Linked DNA regions of Homo sapiens: regions 2 and 3 are each linked to region 1. The links are contacts of gene promoters, found by promoter capture Hi-C in blood cells and fetal thymus (Javierre and others, 2016). All regions are on one chromosome and are shown on one strand. The core of a region is centred on a gene start or on the middle of the fragment in contact, and the rest is flanking DNA. Distances in the headings are between cores, read along the strand shown.

Region 1 (3,986 bases), core at 616-3,115:
AAATGGACAGGACATATTTAAAACTGTGTGGGCTGGGCGCAGTGGCTCCTGACTGTAATCCCAGCACTTCCAGAGGCTGAGGCAGGAGGATCACCTGAGGTCAGAAGTTCAAGACCAGCCAGGCCAACATGGCACAACCCTGTCTCTACTAAAAATACAAAACAGCCAGGCATGGTGGTGTTCACCTGTAATCCCAGCTACTTGGGAGGCAGAGGCACGAGAATCACTTGAACCCAGGAGGTGGAGGTTACAGTGAGCCAAGATTATGCCACTGCACTTCAGCCTGGGTGATAGCACGAGACTGTGTCTCAAAAAAAAAAAAAATACATATATATATATATATGTACACACACATATGTATATACACACAAATATATACACACACACATATATATATACACACACATATGCGTATCTGTATATATTAAGGCCAGGCAGGGTGGAGCTCACCTGTAATCCCAGCACTTTGGGAGGCCGAGGCGGGTGGATCACAAGGTCAAGAGATCGAGACCATCCTGGCCAACATGGTGAAACCCCGTCTCTACTAACAATAGAAAAATTAGCCAGGCGTGGTGGCGGGTGCCTATAGTCCCAGCTACTTGGGAGACTGAGGCAGGAGAATTGCTTGAACCCGGGAGGCAGAGGCTGCTGTGAGCTGAGATTGTGCCACTGCACTCCAGCCTGGCGACAAAGCGAGACTCCGTCTCAAAAAAAAAAATATATATATATATGCCAGGCACGATGGCTCACGCCTATAATCCCAGCACTCCAGGAGGCTGAGGCAGGAGGATCACTTGAACCCAGGAGTTCAATACCAGCCTGAGCAACATAGGTAGACCCTGTCTCTACAAAAATTTTTAAAAATTAGCTGGGTATGATTGCATGCCCCTGTATAGTCCCAGTTACTCAGGAGACCGAGGCAGGAGGATCGCTTGAGCCCAGCAGGTTGAGGCTGCAGTGAGCTGTGGTCATGCCACTGCACCCCAGCCTGAGTGACAGAGCAAGACCCCGTCCCAAAAACAAAAACAAATACAAAACTATGAAACATGAGGTAACTGAGGTGTTTGAGTTCCTCTGGTGAGCTTCCAAATTCTCATCTGTGAAATGAAGACCATCAGGAAGATTGGTAATAGTATATGTAAAGCCCCTTGCACAGGGCAAGTATCTTGTGGTTGATGGTAAATTTCCCCAACTACCACTCTGCTGGCCTAGACCCTGAACAAGAGAAGGAGGCTGGAGAGCCAGGACGTCCGGGGACCAAGCCCCCGAAGCGGGACGAAGAGCGAGGCAAGACCCAGGGCAAGCACCGCAAGTCCTTTGCTCTGGACAGCGAAGGGGAGGAGGCATCCCAGGAGTCCTCCTCGGAGAAGGTGAGGGCCCGGGCGCCGGCTCCTGGCCGAAGCCTACTTCCCATAGCCAGCATCTTTGTGGTTGGAGCCCAGGCAGCTGTGCCTGGTGTAGGACCAGTTGTCCCCTTCCTGTTAGTCCTCATTTGTCTTTTTTCTTAAGGATGAGGAGGATGACGAGGAAGATGAGGAAGATGAAGATCGAGAGGAAGCTGTGGATACCACAAAGAAGGAGACAGAGGTGTCGGATGGTGAGCACAAGACAGTGAAATCGACTTTGGGCTCGGAGGAGGGGTTCGGCTGCCTGGCTAGCCCTTTTCTGAGCCCACATGACCTTCCTGCTGGGCTTGTGGGTCACCTTTGCCTTCTGCAAGGGCATCTGTTTGGGCCACATTCTTAGGAACCCTTGGCCCCTTGACAGCAATAAGCTCAGTGCTCAAAATGCTCCCTCCTGCTCCCTCTTCTGCTGAGACATAGCTGTCCAAAAGGACAGCCTGGCAGAACGCTTTTTTTGTTTTGTTTTTTGTTGTTGTTGTTGTTGTTGTTTTGAGAGAGTTTCGCTCTTGTCGCCCAGGCTGGAGTGCAATGGCGCAATCTCGGCTCACTGCAACCTCCGCCTCCTGAGTTCAAGAGATTCTCCTGCCTCAGCCTCCGTTGTAGCTGGGATTACAGGCACCCACCACCACCCCCAGCTAATTTTTTGTATTTTTAGTAGAGACAGGGTTTCACTATGTTGGCCAGACTGGTCTTGAACTCCTGAGCTCAGGCGATCCACCCACCTCAGCCTCTGGAAGTGCTGGGATTACAGGCGTGAGCCACCACACCCAGATTTTTTTTTTTTTTTTTTGAGACAGAGTCTCGCTTTGTCACCCAGGCTGGAGTGCAGTGATGTGATCTTGGCTCACTGCAACCTCCGCCTCCCTGGTTCCAGCGATTTTCCTGCCTCAGCCTCCCAAAGCGCTGGGATTACAGGTGTGAGCCACCACACCTGGCTAATTTTTGTATTTTTAGCAGAGATGGGGTTTTACCATGTTGGCCAGGCTGGTCCCAAACTCATGACCTCAAGTGATCCACCCACCTCGGCCTCCCAAAGTGCTAGGCTTTCACCTGTGAGCCACTGCACGCAGCCTCTTGCAGCAGTCTTGACTGATTTCCCTGTCTCTCTTTCTGTCCTTCTCCCTCTGTTCCAGTCCATTTTCCAAACTGCTTATAGAATCTCTTTCCTAAAATGCACTCCTGACCCTGTGACTTCCCTCCATAAGGTCCTTCCTGGCAACTTGTTCTCCACAGGGTGTCCCCCCAGGCCAACACCATGGGCCGTTTATCTCCTGGCCCTGCTCTGTTCAGCTCCATCTCGCCCTCCTCCAGTCCGCTCCCCAGCTGCCACCACCTTCTAGTCTAACTTATCCAATTCTGTTCCTCAAAAACTGTGAAATTCTTCAGTTTTTTCGAGTCCTTCCCGTACATGAGCAGTCTCAGAATATAGAGCCTGTCGTGTTTTTTAACCTTTTCAGCCCAGAATCCTTTTTCACCCAATCCTTCGTCCAGACTGGGTCCTGAGACCCACTTTAGGAAGGTTTGAGTGCCAGAGCAGCCTGCTTCCCAGTCTCCAAGCCTCCACTTCCTCTTGCTTCCGACATCCCTGTGCAGTCCCCATGTCTGTGTGGTGGACTCCTTGTCCTTGAGTTCAGCTTGTCCCCTGGGATGCTTTCCTTTTCGGGCCTCTTCAGACAGAGTCTGGGGCTTCCTTTGCCATCCTCCCCGCATGCTGATGTTTATCTCACAGTGAAAATGGTTTGCTTATGCAGCTCCTTGGTCTGTTGGACTTCCCCGTCCCTAGCCCAGAGCCCAGCATCCACAGCAGGGAGTGAGTGAGGAGCCCACGGCTGGCCAAGTGAGGTCTGCCCACCTCTCCTGACTGCCCCTTCTGGATTTCCAGGCGAGGACGAGGAAAGCGATTCGTCTTCCAAATGTTCTCTGTATGCTGACTCAGATGGCGAAAATGACAGCACATCAGACTCCGAGAGCAGCAGCTCTTCCAGCTCCTCATCCTCCTCCTCCTCCTCGTCCTCATCCTCCTCGTCCTCTTCATCCTCTGAGTCCTCCTCTGAAGATGAAGAGGAAGAGGAGCGGCCAGCAGCCCTTCCCTCAGCCTCCCCGCCCCCCAGAGAAGTCCCAGTGCCCACGCCAGCACCTGTGGAGGTGCCAGTGCCGGAAAGGGTTGCAGGCTCCCCAGTCACACCCCTGCCCGAACAGGAGGCGTCTCCAGCAAGGCCTGCAGGTAGGTGCCACAGGGCTGTCGGTTAGATCGCTGTGTGTGTGAGAGAGAGAGAGAAAACAGTGGTGCTTGCATTTATTGTGTACAAGTGTGTGACTTTATTAGAAAAACATACAAAGAAAATGTCACCATCTCCTGTCACTACCTTCTAGAGACATTGATTGTCTGACACACTTCAAACTGTACCGTCATGGTGGTTTACAGAACCCCAGGCTAAGCTGCATACTAAAGTAAAATGGGTTGGTCTCTTCTCAAGTAAATTAAGGAGAAAGTGCCCAGTTGAATAAGTTCTTCCTCCTAATTTTTCTTAAGCCTGTTCTTCAGTGAGTAGTGAACAAGTGCAGGTTATTAAATGGGCAAAT
Region 2 (3,986 bases), core at 519-3,018, 180 kb after region 1:
GCTCCGTGGCCCCACCTCCTGAGGCCCCGCCCTAGGAACCTCACCTCTCGAAGCCCCACCTCCCCGAGGCCCTCCCCTCTTGTCCCGTCCCACTCACCTGCCTCCTGGACGTCTCCCCAGCCGGTGGCCCAGCAGGCGGTGCCGTGCACGAAGCGGTGTGAGGCGCGGGGCAGGCAGACAGGCCACACGGCGGGGCCCAGGCTGGCGGGTGAGGCCAGGCGCAGCAGGGCCAGGTCGGCGCCCAGCTCCACTTGGCTGTAGTTGGCCGGCACCACGATGGCGGCCACTGCGCGGGTGTGCGCGCCGTCCAGGGGCCCGTCCTGGGAGTGCACGCCCAGCAGTACCGACCACTCGGCCGCGGGCTCCAGCGTCCCATTCCTGCGCTCGACCGGGGCAGTAGGAGGTTAGGTTGACCCTATGGAGGGGGCAGACCCTCGTTGGGGGCAGGGGCTCAGAGCCAGAGGGGCAGGTGCTATCCGATCCAGATTTGGTGCTGATACTCCTCAAAGGGGAAGAGCAAATCCGATTTGGAGCTGGTGGTGGGGGGGTCATTGGAAAGATGGGATTCAGACCCGGATATTGAGTGGAGTGGTGGGACCAGTCCGGCAGCCTTGCCCCACTCGGAACCATGATGCCTCGAATAGCACCTCGCTTTGGGGACAGCTTGGCTCCAAATTATCCTTGAGGACGGAAGTGGGGCGGGAGGAGGGGACCAACTGCGGGGGCGGGGGCCAGCTTTTGGCGGAGAGGGGCCAGGACCAGGGCGAATACTCACGTCATGAAACAGTGAGCAGCGGAGAGGACCCAGGAGGGGGCGATGAGGGAGCCCCCGCAGATGTGGCCACCTCCATGGTGCAGGCTCACTTGCCAAGGCCAGGTGCCCGGCTGCGCGTTTGAGCCCCCCACGATGCGGGCCGAGGGCTCAGGGCGCCCGCAGTCTGCAACGGGGAGCCGTGGAAGCCAAAGCTCCCCTCGGGTTCCCCACTCCAGAAGCCCAGGTAACTCAGGACGAAGGCCCGTCCTCCACCCACTTCAGTTTGCCCCTCTGAACAAAGAACATAGAGGACCCAGGCTTGTCTACATTTCTGGTCTTTTCCACCTCCCTCATGGCCTGACCAGCCTTAGCCTCCTTTAAGGTCTGAGGGTGCCAAGGCCTCTTCCTTACCCAGATCTTCAGGTTCTTCCTGGGTAGGACTGAGAGCTGGGAGCCAGAGGGGAAAGAGAGGAGGACACTTGTGACTTCCAGGCCTGCACCGCCCAGCCCCACTTCCTGCTCTCCAACCCCCGACCCTATCTTCCCACTTCCCTGTCCGTTCAGCAACCCCTGCCAGCACCCATGCCAGTCCTCTGGTCTTTTCTGCCTCTGCACGTGACTTTCCCCCAGTCCGGCTACCTTACCTGAGTCCTGGAAGGCTCCTGGGATGGGACTGATGACTGGAAAGACAGAGGTAGGCAGGAAGAGGCTGGCGACTCGCACTCAGTATGTGCCCTCCCTGACTCCCTCCCCCAGCCTCCTAGCCTCCGTCTCCCCAGGGCACCCAGGCCTCCCTCTCCCTCCTCTGATACATCCTCGCCTTCTGCTGCCTCACTTCCTTCTCTCTGACTTCCTGCTCCCCACACAGAAACCAGGAATCCTGCTCTCCAGCCCCCCAGATGCCAGGACCCAGGCCCTTTGCAGCCACTCTTGTCCCCTGAGGTTACCAAGCATCACAAGGGGGAGGAGCAGGTGCCGGGCCATGGCGCTAGAGTCAGCGGAGGCAGAGCCAAGTGAAGGTCTGCTCCCTGCAGGGCTCTGTCACTGCCCAGGCAGCCCGTGACTCCTGATGGTCCCAGGGGCAGCCCCACCCTCCCTGGCTGGAGCCCATCTCTGGGAATCTGAGAGGATCTGGGGCTGGAAGGGGGAAGCTGGGGAGCCTGAAGGCCCCACCCAGAGCCCTGCGCACATCTCATGTCTCTGGAGGCCCAGGGTGGGGGTGGAGGACAGGTGTCCTAGCTCCTGGACACCTGTTGGGTGGGAGAGGGAGGGATGAAAAACACTGCAGGCAAAGGTCAAAGAGGAGGACAGTGTTCTGTGTCCTTGGTGAGCAGTGGCCCTTAGGACAGGGGAAGTGGCCCCTCACGGGCATGACTCATCGGAGACCTCACCTCTGTTTGGGGTGCGGCTGCCCCAGTGGCTTGGCCTTTTCTTCTCACACAGCTCTGGTTACTGGAGCTGCTGGCCAGGTCTGGGACAGGAGCCCTAGGGAATTCAATCCCATCCCAACAAAAGGATCACAGATTCCAGCAGGTTGGGCAGGGCATAGGGACCCTGGGAGGGGGCTGGGCAGGCTGGCGAGGCTGAAAAAGCCTCCACCCTGCTCTGTGTTCCAGTGACAATGCTCTTAGCTGCCCTGTCACTTACTCTGTGTGACTTTGGGAAAGTAACCCAACCTCTTGGTGTGTATCAGTAAGAGCCAGTTTAAGGGACATATGACTTGGCCGAGCACGGTGGCTCACTCCTGTGATCCTAACACTCTGGGAGACTGAGGTGGGAGGATTGCTTGAGGCTAGGAGTTCAAGACCAGCCTGGTCAACATAGCAAGACCCCATCTCTACAAAAAATTAAAAAATACAAAAATTATGAACTGCAGGGCGTGGTGGTGCACGTCTGTATCCCAGCTACTCGGGAGATGAGGTGGGAGGATTGCTTGAGCCTGGGAGGTCGAGGTTGCAGTGAGCTATGATTGTGCCACTGCACTCCAGCCTGGGTGACAAAGCGAGACCCTGTCTCAACAACAACAACAAAAAGAAAAAAAAAAAGAAGAATAAGAAGAAGAAAGAAACATATGGCTCTTCAAAGAGGAGTTGAAGAGAGTTTAAGGAAGAAACTATTTATAGAAGTGTAGGCAGGGTCAAAGGAAACCAAAGAGGCTGGGTGGCTCACGGCTGTAATCCCAGCACTTTGGTAGGCCGAGGCGGGCAGATCACCTGAGGTCAGGAGTTCAAGACCAGCCTGGCTAACTTGGAGAAGCCCCATCTATACTAAAAATACAAAAATTAGCCGAGTGTGGTGGAACTCACCTGTAATCCCACCTATTAGGGAGGCTGAGGCAGATAAAAATGCTTGAACCCAGGACGTGGAGGTTGCAGTGAGCCAAGATAGCGCCGTTGCACTCTAGCCTGGGTGACAAGAGCGAACTCCGTCTCACAAAAAAAAAAAAAAAAAGGAAACCAAAGAGGGATGGTAACGCATCCTGGGGCCAGCAATAATAGAGAGCCCTTGCTACCTGCTGGCCTGAAGAGGCAGAGAGGGGGCAGTTACTGGAACCCAGCAAGAGCTGCAGCTATGGAAGAGATAGCTGTTAGGAGCCGTGGCCTTCAATAGAGAAATGCAGCCTTTACCAGCAGAGAGGGAGTGGGGAAAGAAAAATCCCCATCTCACTCTCATCTCATCCTCTCTATTTTTAATTAAACCAATTAAAAAATTTTAGAGACACGGTCTCACTCTGTCACCCAGGCTGGAGTGCAGTGCTGTGATTATAGCTCACTGTAACCTCGAATTCCTGGGCTTAAGCGATCCTCTGGCCTCAGCCTCCTGAGAAGCTGGGACTACAGGCACGCACCACCATACCCAGCTAATGTTTTTTATTTTTGTAGAGATGGGGTCTTATTATGTTGCCCAGGCTGGTCTCAAACTCCTGTCTCAAGCGATCTTGCTGCCTCAGTCTTCCAAAAGTGCTGGGATCCTCCCATCCTCTGATCACCCCCTGGCTCTTTTCATTGAAACCTCCCAGAGGCCAGAGTTCAAGGGAGACCATTATATGGTCCATAAAGGTCACTCTTAGGGAACAAATCAGGGTGGACAGCAGAAATGCAGGGTCAACCCAGGAATATTTACACATGTGTATCTATCTTCTTACTGATAATATCAATTAATAATAATATTGGTCTATGAGTCTAGTTGCCCTAGAAAACAGGCCTAGGCAAAGCCTGCATGCTTGTGCTTA
Region 3 (3,986 bases), core at 750-3,249, 150 kb after region 1:
ACAGGTGCGGGCCCCGAGGCCCAGCTAATTTTTTTTTTCCCCCAAATTTTTAGTAGAAAGGAGGTCTCTATGCTGCCCAGGCTGGTCTTGAACTCCTGGCCTGAAGCGATCCTCCTGCTTGGATTCCTGAAGTGCGAGATTACAGGTGTGAGCCACCATACCTCAACACTGTATTTTCAACCCGCTCTTCGTTCAATCTCCAAAGGTGGGACATGCGGATATGGAGGGCCGATTGTGTATGGTTGGACCATACACATATAAATGGCTTTAACCTTTACTGACTCTCACAGAACCCTCAGTGCAGTGGCGTGATCTCAGCTCACTGCAAGCTCCACCTCCCGGGTTCACACCATTCTCCTGCCTCAGCCTCCCGAGTAGCTGGGACTACAGGGGCCCGCCACCACGCCCGGCTAATTGTTTTGTATTTTTTTTTAGTAGAGACGGAGTTTCATCGTGTTAGCCAGAATAGTCTCGATCTTCTGACCTCGTGATCCACCCGCCTAGGCCTCCCAAAGTGCTGGGATTACAGGCGTGAACCACCGCACCCGGCCTTTTTATTTTTTTTGAGATGGAGTCTGGCTCTTGGTCCCCAGGCTGGAGTGCAATGGCGGGATCTCGGCTCACTGCAACCTCCGCCTCCCGGGTTCAAGCGATTCTCCTGCCTCAGCCTCCCGAGTAGCTGGGACTACAGGTGCGTGCCACCACGCCCGGCTAAATTTTGTATTTTTAGTAGAGACGGAGTTTCACGGTGTTAGCCAGGATGGTCTCGATCTCCGCCCGCCTCGGCCTCTCAAAGTGCTGAGATTACAGGCGTGAGCCACCACGCCCCGCCCAACTCGTCCTTTCTTTAGACTTTATCCTGTGAGGGTGAATTATGGCCTGTCCCTGGACACACCCGTTCTGCTTTCCCCGCACCAACTGTATCCCAAATAGGGGAAGTAGTCTCTTCAACCTTCAAAAATGGGGCACTGGCTGGGCACGGTGGCTCACGCCTGTAACCCTAGCACTTTGGGAGGCCGAGGCGGGCGGATCACCTGAGGTCAGGAGTTCGAGACCAGCCTGGCCAACAGGGTGAAGCCCTCTCTCTACTAAAAATACAAAAAATAGCCGGGCGTGGTGGCGCGCGATTGTAATCCCAGCTATTCAGGAGGCTGAGGCAGGAGAATCGCTTGAACCCGGGAGGCGGAGGCTGCAGTGAGCCGAGATCGCGTCACTGCACTCCAGCCTGGGCGACAGAGCGAGACTCCATCTCAAAAAAAAAAAAGGGGGGGGGGCGGGGAGCGACATTAGGCCAGCGCGAGTGTGCGGCTCCAGGCCACCAGGGCGGCCGCTCTGGCTCTGCCCTGTTAAAGTGGGGGCAGCGCCCGCTGAAAATTGGCACATCTTGGCTTCCGCAGGTACCAGGGCCTTTAAAAAGGTTCAGCTGGCCGGGCACGGTGGCTCACGCCTATAATCCCAGCACTTTGGGAGGTTGAGGCTGGCAGATCACGAGGTCAAGAGATCAAGACTATCCTGGACAACATGGTGAAACCCCGTCTCTACTAAAAATACAAAAATTAGATGGGCGTGGTGGCGCGCGCCTGCAGTCCCAGCTACCCGGGAGGCTGAGGCAGAGGAATCGCTTGAACCCGGAGGCGGAGGTTGCAGTGAGCCGAGATCGCGCCTCTGCACTCCAGCCTGGGCGACAGAGCATGATTCCGTCTCAAAATAAATAAATAAATAAATAAATAAATAAATTAAAAAAAGGTTGAGTTGAGTCATCGCATGAGGTAAGTCTGTCTCCTCTCCTCACCCATAGGCTGCAGCCACAGGTCCGCACGGAAAACCAGGAGCTCCAAGACTGCCGCACACTCAACATCCAACTCGCGGGGCCGCGGGGACGGCCACAGAAGCCAATCGGCTCCTGCTACATCACAGACCCCGCCCTCAAACCTTGAGGAGCCCGCCCCACGCACTGCTGACCCGGAGCCAAAAGAACTGCGTGGCGTCCGATTCTGGCGTCACTTCCCTTCCCGCGATGGCGGCACAGGGAGCTGCTGCGGCGGTTGCGGCGGGGACTTCAGGGGTCGCGGGGGAGGGCGAGCCCGGGCCCGGGGAGAATGCGGCCGCTGAGGGGACCGCCCCATCCCCGGGCCGCGTCTCTCCGCCGACCCCGGCGCGCGGCGAGCCGGAAGTCACGGTGGAGATCGGAGAAACGTACCTGTGCCGGCGACCGGATAGCACCTGGCGTGAGGGCGGGGCCCAGGGCTGGGGGCGGGGCGGAGCTCAGGGCCAGGGGGTGGGGCGGGGCCTGAGGACAGGCTGTCAGTGAGGCCAAGATCCGGGGGCTGGGAGTGGAGAGGAGGAGGGGCGGGGCTTGAGGAAAGAACGCCGCGTTCCGGGCGCTGAGAAACCAGCCGGGTTGTGGGAGGCTGTTGACCTTGAATTATGCCGAGCGACGCCTACAAACCCACCGCTCAGGCCTTCACCAGGATTGTTCCCATTCCACTTCCTTGCCCAGTCTTAGGCTTCATTCCTTTTTCTTGCTAACGCTGCTTCCTCACCCTCTCTTGTCTCTGCGTCTTCTTTTTCCATTTGTCCCTGGCAGCCATCCGCAGAGAGAAGACCTTCCAGAAACAACAGGCTTCCCTTTCCTAAAGTTCTGCTGCCTTCTCTCATTTTCAAAATTAACCCCAAACTCCTTAGGGTGGCATTCATTTTTGTGACCTCTCCAGTTTCTAGCCAACACTAGGAAAGGGCATTGCCAGGCCAGAACACACTGTGCCCTCTGAAGACCACACGCCCTTTACCACCTGTGCCCTTTGCTTGGAATGCTTTTTCTTCCCTTTCTCCTTGTTTGCCTGCCTAGCTCCTACTCATCCTCTTAGCTTCATATCCTTTGTGATGTCATCCTTGATTCCCCTTCAGGCAAAGTGAGTGGTTCCCTTCTCTATGTTCCTGCAACATTTTTTTCCTACCTCAGTCATAGTTTTTGTAACATTATGTTGTAATTTTCTCTCTCTGTCTTCCTCCATCATACTGGGAACTTCTGGAGGGCAGCACTTCTTGTGATTCATCACTGTGTCCTCTGTACCCGGCAACAACACAGCATAGGGCCAGACACGTAGTGGTTGCCTTACTCATTTATTGAATGCTCTGCTAATTGTCAGGTGCGCTGCTAAAAATTTTGGAGGCATTAATTCACCTTCTAAGGTTGGTACTATTATCCCTTTTGTCTTTTTTTTTTTTTTTTTTTTTGAGACAGGATCTCGCTCTGTCACCCAGGTGGGATTGCCGTGGCACGATGACAGCTCACTGAAGCCTAGACCTTCTAGGCTCAAGTGATCCTCCCACCTCACCCTCTCAGAGTGTTGGGATTACTGGCATGAGCCACTGTGCCCAGCTGTTATCCCTTTTCACAGATGAAGAGACTGAGGCTCAGAAAGATGGAATAACTTGCTCAGTTACACATAGCTAGGAAGTAGGGAGCTGGAATTTTGTGTATTTTTTTTTGTTTGTTTGTTTGAGATGGAATCGCTCTCTGTTGCCAGGCTGGAGTGCAGTGGCGCCATCTTGGCTCACTGCGATCTCTGCCTCCCGGATTCAAGCGATTCTCCTGCCTCAACCTCCTGAGTAGCTGGGACTACAGTTGTGCGCCACCACACCCAGCTAATTTTTGTATTTTTAGTAGAGACGAAGTTTCACCATGTTGGCCAGGATGGTTTTGACCTCTTAACCTCGTGATTCACCCACCTCGGCCTCCCAAAGTGCTGGGATTACAGGCGTGAGCCACGATGCCCAGCCCTGGAATTATACATTAATGTAGGTTATCTTAATCCAGAGCCAGCACTCATGATCCCTGAACAAATGAACAACTGCGGGTATGTGGTAAAATGAGCATTGAATTTAGAGTCAGACTTAAATTCAGTTAAGTATTAGCTCTTACCACTTTTCAAATCTGTGACCCTAGGTAAGCCTCAGTTTTGTTCTGTTTTTTGGGGTTCTTT

Evidence for each region. Contacts are between HindIII fragments. The CHiCAGO score rates a contact against its expected background, and 5 or more counts as called.
Region 2: a contact is called between the fragment with the promoter of PRSS36 here and a fragment that was not itself captured in region 1, in 17 of 17 cell types (M2 macrophages, M0 macrophages, megakaryocytes and 14 more). The highest score is 17.6, in M2 macrophages.
Region 3: the fragment with the promoter of KAT8 here is called in contact with a fragment that was not itself captured in region 1 in 8 of 17 cell types (naive CD4 T cells, M1 macrophages, M2 macrophages and 5 more); the score reaches 7.7 in naive CD4 T cells.

What each region holds. Positions count from the first base shown.
Region 1 is chr16:30,968,093-30,972,078 of GRCh38, forward strand. It overlaps SETD1A (SET domain containing 1A, histone lysine methyltransferase), which reads left to right. Exons shown (of 19, transcript NM_014712.3): 11 at 1,213-1,370; 12 at 1,510-1,597; 13 at 3,286-3,627. Among named protein-coding and RNA genes, the nearest start is that of SETD1A, 12 kb to the left of the region's middle. The HindIII fragment of the contact is 6,620 bases long and covers 1-3,986 here.
Region 2 is chr16:31,148,298-31,152,283 of GRCh38, forward strand. It overlaps PRSS36 (serine protease 36), which reads right to left and starts at 1,769. Exons shown (of 15, transcript NM_173502.5): 1 at 1,702-1,769; 2 at 1,399-1,434; 3 at 1,166-1,201; 4 at 776-938; 5 at 98-378. The coding sequence starts at 1,738. RefSeq lists enhancers at 403-940, 941-1,476, 1,477-2,013. The HindIII fragment of the contact is 9,446 bases long and covers 1-3,986 here.
Region 3 is chr16:31,115,665-31,119,650 of GRCh38, forward strand. It overlaps KAT8 (lysine acetyltransferase 8), which reads left to right and starts at 2,000. Exons shown (of 11, transcript NM_032188.3): 1 at 2,000-2,228. The coding sequence starts at 2,018. It also overlaps a transcript of BCKDK not described here. RefSeq lists silencers at 1,818-2,044, 1,944-2,293 and an enhancer at 2,464-2,583. The HindIII fragment of the contact is 10,033 bases long and covers 1-3,986 here.